Linked DNA regions of Homo sapiens: region 1 is linked to region 2. The links are contacts of gene promoters, found by promoter capture Hi-C in blood cells and fetal thymus (Javierre and others, 2016). All regions are on one chromosome and are shown on one strand. The core of a region is centred on a gene start or on the middle of the fragment in contact, and the rest is flanking DNA. Distances in the headings are between cores, read along the strand shown.

Evidence for each region. The method cuts DNA at HindIII sites, captures the fragments that hold promoters and counts their contacts. A CHiCAGO score of 5 or more calls a contact.
Region 1: a contact is called between a fragment that was not itself captured here and the fragment with the promoter of BRS3 in region 2, in 1 of 17 cell types (activated CD4 T cells). The highest score is 5.2, in activated CD4 T cells.

The regions. Positions count from the first base shown.
Region 1 is chrX:137,050,056-137,057,048 of GRCh38, forward strand. No RefSeq gene overlaps it. Among named protein-coding and RNA genes, the nearest start is that of GPR101, 20 kb to the left of the region's middle. RefSeq lists a silencer at 2,307-2,356. The HindIII fragment of the contact is 1,730 bases long and covers 3,805-5,534 here.
Region 2 is chrX:136,484,783-136,491,277 of GRCh38, forward strand. BRS3 (bombesin receptor subtype 3) reads left to right here and starts at 3,165. Exons shown (of 3, transcript NM_001727.2): 1 at 3,165-3,766; 2 at 5,351-5,702. The coding sequence starts at 3,333. The HindIII fragment of the contact is 2,387 bases long and covers 1,439-3,825 here.

The sequences.
Region 1 (6,993 bases), core at 3,420-5,919, 570 kb after region 2:
TGGGTTCAAGTGATTCTCCTGCCTCAGCCTCTGGAGTAACGGGGATTACAGGCATGCACTACAATGCCCCACTATTTTTTTTTTTTTTTTTTTTTTTTTTAGTAGAGATGGGGATTCACCATTTTGGCCAGGCTAGTCTCGAACTCCCAACCTCAAGTGATCCACCAGCCTCAGCCTACCAAAGTGCTGGGATTACAGGCGTGAGCCACTGCACACAGCTCCATACTCAACTTCTTATATCCATACTACTATAACTTCCCTCAGTCTCCTCAGTTATTGGATCCCGTAAAATCCATACGCCTTGTTGCTTTCTGACTTTCCAATGTCTCTTCTCCACATCATCCCCTCCACACTGTGCCTTTTATCTTCTTGTTTCCTCATTAATCCTCCCTTACTCCCCCTCATTCATTACCCATCTTTCCATTTCTTACCAGTAACAGCCAGTTTGGGTACTGCATTATGCGGGAGTTGGGGGGTATCTAGCCCAGCAGGTCTGATTGCTACAGAACAGGCTAAGCACATTCTAGCAACTGATGGAGAAGATGGGAATCTGCTGGATGACAGTGTTTCCTTTTAACATTACTTTGTATTGGCCGGGCGTGGTGGCTCACGCCTGTAATCCCAGCACTTTGGGAGGCCGAGGCAGGTGGATCACGAAGTCAGGAGTTCAAGACCAGCCTGGCCAAGATGGTGAAACCCCGTTTCTACTAAAAATACAAAAATTAGCCAGGCGCTGTGGCAGGCGCCTATAATCTCAGCTACTCGGGAGGCTGAGGCAGGAGAATCGCTTGAACCCAGGCGGCAGAGGTTGCGATGAGCCGAGATCACGCCACTGCACTCTAGCCTGGGCGATAGAGTGAGAGTCCGTCTCAAGAAACAAACAAACAAACAAAAAAGCAAACAAACAACAAACCCCATTACTTTGTATTTGGCTTCCTATAGCATAGGTGAGTACCTGTTATCAAAACACGGGTGCAAAAGAGAGATGAAACAGGGATGCAAATGAAGAGAGGATGAAATGAACATTGCGCTGTGCAAAGGAAATGATTCACATTTTCACAAATTCAGTGGTCTTTTTATAAACTATACCTGTCAGCAGACCTCACTGTTTGAAGTAAACAAGCTCAAAAACCAGAAAAAAAGCAAACAAGGCTATCTTTTTTACTTGGTGGAAAGTGGTAGATGTTCTAAGTAGAGACGCAGCATAATTCAATTTCACAACTCTCTGAGAGCTGCTATGTGCCCAATGCTGACATGGTTTCTGCTCCTGTGGTTCTCATCAGCCCACTGGGGAGACAGACACACAGGAGAGAATCAGAGAACAGGAGATGGAAGCAAGCAAGTTGCTATAAGGTGGTTCATACATCAAATGCTGGGGGGAGGTCAGAGGTAGAAGAAGCTGATGTGGGCTGAGAACTTCTGGGAGGAGCTAAGACCCTAGCATCAGCAGTTCGTACCAGTGTGCTTGGTAACACCTCGGGGCCAACTGGACACTTTTCGTTCCTCTGTGCACAGAAAGCAGATCTTGCAAATCCTGGCGAAAGCCCATGCCCGAGTCCGAAAGAAAAGGCTTTGGGTGTCTGGGGCCGCTGCAGCTCCTGGTGTGTGCAATCAATTCCTAACTCAAGTGCAGAAGGCTTCCTTCCCTCAACCAGCCTGAGATACAGCATTCAAAGCACACCAGAGAAAGGTTGGGGGGCGGGGGGACGTTTCCAAGGTGAACACCGATTAGAGCCAGCTTTATTTTCATGAACTCATATGCATATTTTTAGCTCCCATATTTCCTGCTGGTTTGAAGAAGTGTATAAGCAACCATGTGGACAGCTGTGCTTCCCATCAGTGAGGCAGTGCTGGGAAGTAAAAAGAACATGGGTTCCGTGTGAACTTGAGAGGTTCTACAACCCCTCTGAGCCTTAATTTCCCCTTCTGTAAGTGGGGAAAGTGGGGCTAACAAGAGTAACTCATGGGAACTATCTAGTGGGGCTAACTAGAGTACCTCATTGTTTTAAGGATCAAATGATTGGTGTGAAAGTGCTCACAGCAGCGGATGGCAAGTAGTAGGTACTATTGTGATGATGATGGTGCAGTTCCGTGGCGTCCCATACAGGTAGCCCCCTGCGGTGTATGGGACCTCAGTATCTTCCAGGCGGGCATACCTCCGGACATCGCCAGCTCTGGGTGATTGTGAGGTGCCGCACGATGGGGTCTGACGGCAATTGCTCATCCTCAGCAGTTTAAAAATGACATTTGGTTGAGTTGCCGTAGGTGTTATGGATGCTTCCCCCTCCTTCATTTGCGTTTTGCTGAGTTGTCGTCAGATATTATGTGGTCGGATGTTCCCGAGAAGTGCAAGCCCCTCCCCGTGGGCCGCCCAGGGGTGGCCCGCGGGCGGTGCGGGCGACTAGCGGAGGTTGGAGTGGGCTTGTAGACTCGCTCTTACTCCCACCCTCTGGGAGGCCCCTAACCCCGCCCTTTCCCTGCTCGCGGCGAAGGCAAACTGCGCGCACGGCGCCCTCTAGTGCCCAGGAGCTGTCACTGCGCGGGTGCCCGCGGCCCCAGCTCTCCCCGCCCCACCAAGGGTGTTTGTGAAGATCCCTCGGCACGGCCGCATACCCCAATCTTCATTCCTGGGTGTCCTGACCATCCCCCACAGACCCATAAGACGCAGATCCGAGACCGCTTCTTGTTTGTTTATTTATTTATTTAGCTAAAAGTTTACTAAAACCGGGGGGCTCTGTCGGTTCTTGACTTTGCGGCACCTGCCCCCGAAGGCGCCGTCTCCTCCAGAGAACAGCGCCTGCGATAGGATTCAGCAGGGGTCACCCACACCCCTAACTCAACTCGAGGTGCGAGTCCCCATCTCGCAGCGCCCTCGCGACTGTCATCTGCTGCCTTCGCTACCATTTTTGTTTGGAGAAGCACTGAGAGGAGAAAGGGGCAGTCTACTCCTCACTAAACGTAACCCGGTGGCCCCAGGCGCAGCCCCATCTCCTCGGATGCCAGGAAGATGCCCGCGTGCCGCTCGCGCGCAGGCGCTGTCGTTTTAGAAAACCCGGTGTTTGGTCAGACTTAGACATCGATTTCTACCACCCTCGCAGCTTCTGTCTATTGCTTGGCAAACTGGTAGAGTAAACTGGATTTAACAAAGGGAAAATAAATTTGCCAGGGCCTGCTGTGCCGAAATGTGGGTTGCTATCAGCACGGGCGCTTAATGAGGACTGAATTATCATTAATACGTGGATGAAATTTATAGTGCTCATTAATACTTCTGAAAGACAACATTCCAGGCGTTGTCTACCTCTTCCCTCTGCAAATGTGGATGGGATTCAAAACGTGTGTCTGGCTCGCGAGCGCACTTTGAAAGGCAATTTAATTATCATTCATTTCTGAATTTGGCCATGGGGCTTGTAACACTGGCCTTCATTTCCCCCCTTCTCTGTGTTCTTAATGACACCAAGGTTTCTCTCTGTTGCCACCTAATGAATTTTACTATTGAATAGCAGAGGCTGCGAGAACATGTATTCATCCCTTCCAATGTTAAAATGTTTTAAAGTACAAAGTAAGAAGAATTATTATTGCTTGAATTATGGCATTATCTTCTCTTATTTGATTTTTTTTTCCTTCTCCCCTCTCCTTTTATGTAAACTCGGTAGGACAGGTTCATCACAAGTAGAACATTCCAATTCAGTACCCATCACTAAAAGTCTTTTCTGTGAAAGGGAGATTTGTAAGAGGCTGGAGAGAGAAAATGATAAGAGAAATACAATTGCAAAAAATATTGCATGCCACCTTCAAACAATCCAAAGCTTACAGCAGCACTCATATTGTATGGGTCTTCTTAAATGCGTGTTTTTCTTCTTTTTCTTTTTCTCCTCTTACATCCTCTACATTTTAAAAGGCCAGTGTTCTAACCCCTGGGCTATGCAGCGAACTGCACATATTCTCTATATGTTAAATTCTATTGTCCGACATGTACAAAATCCAAGGTTCAAACTTGATTTCTTCTGTCAGTTTTCAAATGCTTGCTCCTCTCTGCAACTGTGCAACTTCCTTGCAAGTAGAAGAATTGGGAGGGAAGAGTAGGCCAAATATCAAAGAAGATTCCCACTGCTCACGACTTAGCAGAGACTCATATATCTTTGGCTTACAGGGAAGTAGGCAAGACCCCTGAGAGAATTAGGCAGAGGGCCTGAGGGGCGTACCTCGGCATGGTTAGTTTGTTTGTTTTCTGTATGAGGCGTTCTTCAGTTGGGTTGGTAGGCTGGACTCCCAGAAAGGGCTACTGGGTATTCTCATTGGTGTCACCAGCACTTTTCAAGTTGGGAGGGAAGGACTGACGTAGATCTCCAGGCTGGATGGTGGGTGGGGAGTTGGGCTAGCCTGAGGCCCCTGGGGCACATTTGGCAACTAGGAGTTAAAGTTTGGACTCTTCCTTCTCCGAAGTACTAGTACTTTGAGTGGTTTCCCTCTGACTCAGAGCCTCAGTTTCCTCATGTGGAAATGGACAACAACCACCTACAGGGCTGAGTGAGGATCAGAGAGGTTCATCAAGTGGGAAGCTCATAAGAAGAGTTTAAGTTGTTGTTCATTCTGCTTTTGGTGAGATTGTGGATCCTGAGAACCTGTTGATTTGAGGTGGGGGTGGGGGCACAGTAGAAGGAGAAAACACCTGTCCACTAGAATTCTTTTTTCATGAGAATAGTGAAGTGCAGCAACTCCTAGGAAAGAGAGAGAGGAGGATTCATGTTCAAGAGGACTAGTGCTAGGGTGAGCATGGCGATTGAATAGGAATGTTTCTGAGTTTGTTAACCTATGGACCAGGCTGGATTAAAGAGCTGAGGACTTATCCCAAAACTGACAGGATGCTGAACCATCATCAAATCTACCAGTTGGGTGTAAGGAAAACAATCTCCAAAAGAATGAGAAGCACTGACAGAAGAAGCAAGAAGAATGGAAGTTAGACTCAGAAAGAACTCTGTGAGTGAGGGCTGTGATCAGTGTTCAGCAAAGGGAGGAAATGAAATCCCATTCTGTGGAAACACAGTATTTCTAAAGAGCCTTGCCTGGGAGCACAACCCCGCTGATGGGCAGGCAGTTAAGTGGATGCTTCTGGAGGCATCTTTCTGCTTCACATTTTCGCATAAATACAGATTTCTTCTTACTGTTTTCAGTGAAAGCCAAAATTGATATCTTCTGTGCAGGATTGGTCTGAGAAAAAGAGATTTTTAGAATCAAAGTTTCCCCTTTCCTGAACAGTGTTAGCAATGATGGAATGGATTTTTATTCCAAGGGAGCCTTTTTATTCACATGCTCATTTATGGGCACACATCGAATGCCTGACTATCAGGAAGATTTTAATTTTCACAAGGCAACAAGCAGTTTTGGTTGCTATGGCATTTGTCAGTATCATTTTCACTATACAACGTCTTACAGAGCCTTCTGTTCTATAAAACCTACTTAGAACTTCAATCTTAATGCTGCTGCTTTTTTGTTGTTGTTGTTGGTCAAATGTGTGATGGTTATAGCATTAACAAAGCTTGCTTGGACAACGTAGACTCCCCTTTTCAAGGATTAACAATCTGAGGGGAGCTGTGACATTGCAGTTCTTTAAAGTCTTTATCAGGATTTCTGCACAGATGACGACTTTGAATCTTGTATTCTTTTCTGCCTGACTGGAAAAGTCAGCTTTTGCGAATACATTTAAGGGGAAATTAATCTGCAGCTAAGTGGGAGTGGGGGAGCTATGTGACATGTTATGTAAGCTTCTAAAATGTCTTCTTCCTTCACAAATACAATTGAGAAAATCCCCTTTGTAACTAAAAGTCAATTTCTGCTGGAGGTGGGGTTAGCTTTCATTAGAAACATGATTAATAAGCTTTATAATGCTTATTAATTAGAATGTCTGTCTAGTGGTTGCCTTAAGGAGGGTGGGATCAACCCTTTACCCCTAACTGGTTTGGAAGTTGAGGCTGCTGATGTCACACATGCACCAAGAAGTATGAAAAGGCATACTTGCATCATGAGACTTTCTTGGGAGGGCAGGGCAGGCCCCCCAAACAGGTCCAAAAGCAGACACCAAAGGCTGAGTGAAGGAAGGGGCTAGTGGCTTTGATTTTATTGTAGTTAGGGCACGGGGTTGGGGTGAGAGTTCACATGCATGGGCTGAAGTTTGCATGGTTTGAACTTCCCCATGGGCTCCAAAGGAAGTATTACCTAGACTTTCTTATGGGCTTGCTTAAATATGGGGAAAAAGGGAAAGGGGATAGTTGGGATTGAAAGCTGTTGGCAGTCAAACACCAAAATCGAAGTGAGACTCTGTTGCAATTCACCTCTGATGTTTCACTGATGACTGAATTGTGCTACGTTTTATTTAATTGAATTTGAACTTGTTTAAGTAAGCCATTATGGTGCTCTATGAGGCCTGCAGCCTGAGACCAGTAAGGGAGGTGAATGTTTCTTTGAATATCTTGTTTAAGATACCAGCATTGTGGATTCTGAGAAGTGAAATGAGTGCCTTGGTCACTGTCAATGATGTCTGGAACTCTGAAGAGGATAATTAGTTCCTTGGTGAGGCCTTGTATTATGGTGTTAAATATGTGCTTGATTTGTATTTTGGTTATTTGTGAGGGAATAAATTTCCAGAATTCTTTGCCTTAAAGGGGGAAACCTTGGATAAGGGATCGTAGGTGCCATTGGTTAGACCAGATGGCCGGATTGTTGGTAACATCCTTGATCAGGGACATCCAGGGTAGGAGATAGACAGCAGCAGCTCTCCAGCAACACTGCCATGTGTAAGGTGTACAGACTCCCTTTTCTTATCATCCAGTTGATCCCAAGGGGCTCCCCATGTGGTCATTGCATCTGAGACATGGGTAATCTCCTTTGCATCTCTTAAAGGACTGGGAACAGGAGAGGCCACCCCTTCCTTTCAGTGGAATATGCCAGAGGGTCCAGGTTTGGCTCCATCATGTAAGTATCATTTTCATTTCAATA
Region 2 (6,495 bases), core at 1,915-4,414:
CACCTCAGTATCAGGAAAAAAAAAACCCATGATCCTCTTGGAAGAACTGAATTATTTTTATCCTAAGTGGTTCTCGAGTGTGGTCCCAACCAGCAGCATCCTCATCACCTGGGACCTTGTTCAAAATGCACATACTCAGGTCCCACGCCAGACCTACCAAATCAGAAGCTCTGGAGGTGGGACCCAGCAATCTGTGTTTTGATAAGCCTTCCTGATGATTCTGGGGCAAGCCAAAATTTGAGAACCACTGTCCTGTTTACTGATGGCCGAGAATCTTAGAACCAAATTGGCAGCTTCTCTCTGGCAGCTGTTTTCTAACCCCTCTCCCCACCACCTGAGAGGTAGAGAAGGCTTCTTCAGCACCCTTAGATGCCCAGCTCCTTAGAGACTTAAAAAAACATTTTTACAACACCAACTAAATTGGGCTGTGAACCAGAAAACACAACTTCAGAAAATTGGTAACTTATTCATTCAACTTCTAATACTTTTCTGAGTCAAAAAGCTGCATTAGGATTGTATTACAATTCCTTATCTAAAACCAAGTAGTTGTTTTGAAAATCTTGGATGATAATATTGACCACTTATGTACTAAAAACAAAAAAGGATTTCATCATTTTGTATAGGCCAAGTGCCTAGCTAAAAATGATTAACAAGACATGGTTATCTTTTGCTAGTGAATTATAAGGTTGTAAAAGAGATACAAAAGCAAATGCATTTAAATTATCTATCATGAATCACTGGTTAGCCTGGAAATCTCTTGTTCTTTGGTTAATAGAACACGCAGAAAACCTAAGCCTACAATGCCAAATGAGCAAATATGGCTCATTGTCAGGAACTGAGTGTTTTTCAGCTCTTGTCACTGATTTTTAACCTTTCAGAAGCCAAAGAGAATCTGTGTTTCATCTTAGTTCTGTTGAGAACTTGTGAGACCTTGGGTGAGATACTTTCCCTACTCTGGACCTCATTTCTGCCTCTGCAAAATGAGAGCATTTGATTTGATCATGTCTAGGGTCACTTCCATCTCTGATATTCTGGGATTCTGGAATTCTAGAGATCTAAGACCCCCACTGCTCCAGTACTACTCCAATACAACTACTCTCTCTTGACCGCTCTTGATCAGAAGGAAGAGGGAGAAGAAAAAGTATTCCAGTGGCTGCAGCCTGCTGAAAGCATGAGTGAGATCTGGGAATTCAGATAATCTCAGAAATCACATGCAAGCATTACAGAACTTACAAAACAGTGCCATGTGGAGATCGGCTGTGGTGTGAATTGGAAGACATGGTTTGCTCCTTGGTAAATGATACACAGGAGTCCCAGGGAGATTTTATCATTAGTTTGCTGAGAACAAGATGTGAACCCTTTAAGGAGCCCTTTTCTGTAGAGACAATCTTAAAGAACCAGCCCAGTGTATGAAATTACTAGAGTGTATATATCTGAAAGCTTAGGAACTTGGGTTTATGCAAACACTCCCCCGCACCCCCATTCCCATCAAAGGCAGTTATTTAGCTGAGTGATTCAAGCTGTGGCAATAACTTATAAAGGGTGGGGGATAGGTGTGGTTTGGGGGACTTAAACCACATCTGTCTTCCACCCTTCATGAAATTAAGGAGGTAATTGATTCAATTCATCCACTTCACTTTCTCTGAAGAACTGATTGCCCCTACTAAGTATAAAGAACAACCTTTGTTGTTCCCCCTGTTCATTAGCTAGCCAAATACTTTGCTCTTTTTCACTTCGCTCCCCAGACTACTTTCTAATATGGTTATATTTATGAACACCTCACTACATGGTTTCTAGCTGAGAGATTATGCATTGCATTTGATAATTTCAGAGAATATTTCTTAGCAGCTTCAATTAGTAACTACACTCCAACTGCTAGCTTCCTGCTCCCAAACAGTGCCCCCACCACAAACACATACATATAAAGCACATGGTTATGTTTTCTGTAAAAAGTAGCTTCTCTGGCTGGTACTGAGGTGGTTGCCTTAAATGTGTACTTCTTTCAGTTGATGTAAACATCATCTACATGCCCATCATCCCTGGAGTCACCTATTTCATTTCTTCATCTGCAAATGATGATTTTCATTCTTAAAAGTTCTTTTGTGTCAGGAGCTTGAGCAGTGATGTTCTGTATTGTTTTGTTTTGGAATAAGGCAGGTTAGGTTCCCTTTAACCATTTCTAGAGAGAAAAATCCTAAACAGCCCCTTAAAAGAAAACATGGCATTAAAACAGACAGTCAAACAGTAAAAAGTGGTTTTATTAGGACATTTAGAGACAAAGCAACTGGTGCTGTGCCTGGATTTTTCATCTCTTAAAAGGTTGTTTTGGCTGGGTGTGGTGGCTCATGCCTGTAATCCCAGCACTTTGGGAGGCTGAGGCAGGCGGATTGCCTGAGGTCAGGAGTTCAAGACCAGCCTGGCCAACATGGTGAAACCCTGTCTCTACTAAAAATACAAAAATTAGCCAGGCATGGTGGCGGGCGCCTGTAATCCCAGCTACTCGGGAGACTGAGGCAGGAGAATTGCTTGAACCCAGGAGGTGGAGGTTGCAGTGAGCCAAGATCGAGCCACTGCACTCCAGCCTGGGTGACAGAGTGAGACTCCATCTCAAAAAAAAAAAAAAAATTAAAAAGGTTGTTTTGATAGTGTACAGCACAGCCTGGATAACTGCAAAGTTGGGGTTTACCACGTGACAGAGCTAGGTATTAAGCCCAAGTGACCTGAATGATCACTCCTTGGAGGTGACATAAACCCTGTCGAAGTGTAAATGATCTGTTGCTTCACCATCTCTCTGATATTAAATTTTGAGGAGTGGGTTCAAGGTTGTGCTTCAGGGGACACCTACACTTATTTATCATGTAAAACAAAATGCACTAGACTACCATGTGATTGCAGGGGGATAAATGGTTTTTTTCTTAAAAAAAATTGACAAAACCTATATAGACCATCCTGGGTAGATATGAAAACAGGGTGATTCTAATAATAAATAAGACGATTTAATAGGGTCTAGTTGGTCCCAAGATTCCCCAACAGGGAAGAATAAGCAACTGCAGAGCATTTCCCCAGCCCCCTCCCTCTCCTTATGACAGGACACGCCAATAAAACTCCACCTCCTACTCTTCAGTGCCAGATGGGTAAGCATTTAGCCAAGCATGCTGGGAGACACACAGAACTGAAGCAAAGGAGTATCTGGATGTCTTGGATTTTCTTCCCATTCTGTTCTGTTCTGTTCTCCTAATACCATCTCGTTACTAGACGTAGGCATTGGACGTGACAATCAACTGCATTTGAACTGAGAAGAAGAAATATTAAAGACACAGTCTTCAGAAGAAATGGCTCAAAGGCAGCCTCACTCACCTAATCAGACTTTAATTTCAATCACAAATGACACAGAATCATCAAGCTCTGTGGTTTCTAACGATAACACAAATAAAGGATGGAGCGGGGACAACTCTCCAGGAATAGAAGCATTGTGTGCCATCTATATTACTTATGCTGTGATCATTTCAGTGGGCATCCTTGGAAATGCTATTCTCATCAAAGTCTTTTTCAAGACCAAATCCATGCAAACAGTTCCAAATATTTTCATCACCAGCCTGGCTTTTGGAGATCTTTTACTTCTGCTAACTTGTGTGCCAGTGGATGCAACTCACTACCTTGCAGAAGGATGGCTGTTCGGAAGAATTGGTTGTAAGGTGCTCTCTTTCATCCGGCTCACTTCTGTTGGTGTGTCAGTGTTCACATTAACAATTCTCAGCGCTGACAGGTGAGTTTCTTTTCTCCATTATATTTGCCAGGATGTGAAATTGGGCAAAAAGAAAGGAAAGCTTGTACTTAGCATTTACTGGCTACTATTCTGCTTTTCTCACACTCTGTAACGTGGATGTGAGATTGGAAAATCTGGTGGCATTTAAAATAAAAGTTAGTGTAAGAATGTTAAAATTTCTGTGTTAGCACGGAGGAGAAGTTGAAATTGCATGCTTTATGGATAATTTATTCTTATTGTTTGCTCGGAAGTATACTGAACGGGGTTTTTATTTTTCTCCAGTTTATTAAGTAAAGCAAATTGTTCCAGGTGTAAAGGAAAAAAATTCATGCTTTATACATTAGTGCAGCCTAGTGGTGCAATATAGTCAACATGAAAACCAGGATAGGTGTGAAATTGACCACATATGTATAACTGTATATTGGAAGAGTGGTAAAAAGACACAGGCATCTAATTTATTTGAAATTCATCAAATTAGCTAATGGCAGAAAAACGGTGAGGTTTTCAACTCCCTGGTAACTTAGTGTAATGTCATCACGTAATTCTACTTGTTTTCTCTGTAGGCATTCAGTGACATTATCATTTCCAGAGAAATAAATTAATCTTGGTTGACTTTTAGAGCTCTGTGGAGAGAGCGTGTGAGATCCTCTTGCAGTCAGGGTGTTCAGATTCTGTGTTAGGATATTTTCAGTCCAAGTACTCTGTTTTTCTGTGTTCCTATTGTAGAATAACTGTAAAAACATGAAAAAATTTGAGGCTCCAAATGTTAAAAATGATGCTTTACAAAGCCTGCAAGATTCCTGTAAGTAATCGATGTTTGGCAGTACCAGAAGGAATAACTTCTTCAGATTCTAGAATCTGAGAGGAGGAAAACCTTTCCCTGTGTCTTTTGATGATTTTTGCTTTGACTGGTCTTATATTCTATTTGAGGGCAGACTGGCTTAATGACTGTAGATTTTAAGGTGGATTTGTTTGAATGAGGAGGTATCTCTGTACCGGCACAGGACTTCTGATTGCAACTTTGCCTCGCCCTAAATCTGTCCACTGATCAGGTTGGGCAACGAATTAACACTTACAAACGGGGAAGAAATTAATCCTCTCCTCTTTACCACATAAACCCTTGGAATTCTCTTCTAGGAAGGTTGATAACTGTTCACTCATGAAGAAAGGAAAATTAATTCAGTTTAACATCAGTCACTTATACAAAAGAAGTCTTTTAGGTACCTTAAGTGTATTACACTTAAGGTAATACACAGGTGGTGAATTACTCTCAGTCACACATAAAGTCATGCTGATAAATGTTTATTTGTCCTAAATAGAGAGTCTATACATAAAATTATAAAATTGCAAATCTGGAATATCTCATAGGAGTGAATAATGGAAAAGGAGATTAGCATAAATAAAAATATTGGGATGTATTATGTGCATTTAAAACCATAGCCAATTCTAGTTGGTTAATGTTGACTTGGTTATACACATATGCACGGAGGGTAGAACTGGATGACCACTAAGGTCACTTCTCACCCTAAAATTTGGTAACTTTGACATTTATTTGGACCTTTGCCTCTGATTATGTGTTTCTAGATACAAGGCAGTTGTGAAGCCACTTGAGCGACAGCCCTCCAATGCCATCCTGAAGACTTGTGTAAAAGCTGGCTGCGTCTGGATCGTGTCTATGATATTTGCTCTACCTGAGGCTATATTTTCAAATGTATACACTTTTCGAGATCCCAATAAAAATATGACATTTGAATCATGTACCTCTTATCCTGTCTCTAAGAAGCTCTTGCAAGAAATACATTCTCTGCTGTGCTTCTTAGTGTTCTACATTATTCCACTCTCTATTATCTCTGTCTACTATTCCTTGATTGCTAGGACCCTTTACAAAAGCACCCTGAACATACCTACTGAGGAACAAAGCCATGCCCGTAAGCAGGTATGTATTAATCAGTACTCATGCAAATCTAGTTTGAATTTAGAAGTGAAGTTCCTACTTTTGCACAGTGAGTAACTGTGTATCTTCCTGTTTATAAATGCAATAGCAGTGTAGTATTTTTGTTATGAGCATAGGCTCCGGTTTGAATCCCAGTTCTATCACGTACTAGCTGAGTAATCTTGAGCAAGTTACCTAACCTTTCTGAGCCTCGGTTTCCTCATCTGTAAAATGAAGATGATTACTAGATGATATAGATGAAATGCTTAGGTGCAGAGTAAGTATTTCAATAAATGGTAAGACTACTACTATTAGAGAGGGGACAATTGAAGTTTGAGAGTAGTCAAAATTTTTTACCCCATGGAATAGTGGGGAACACTGCATAAGATGATACTATGAAGAAAAGCATCTTTTGTTTTAGAAAGTGTAACAGAATAAAAATACATAGCATATAGAACTGGCAAGAATCCGTAACACTATTCAATGCAAACCACTTACACACAGATGAGCAAACTGAGGTGGGGAGGAGTGAGGGGAAAGAGTGGAATGCAAGTAGCACGAGAACACAGTGACTCACAGAAGCTTGATTAAGACCACTGCAAGAGCCACGTGTACCCTCCCTCTCATAAATATGGACAGAATAAAAGGAATGTTGCCAAAACATAGTTCCATTTGATTAAAAATATTTTTCTAACCTCTGGGAAAGGGGGAGAGAGGATTCCATTTACCCCTTGATCGGTACGCAGAGAACTGTGCCTTTTTTAGAGCTAGTCCATTCAGTTAGTTTAACAATGGT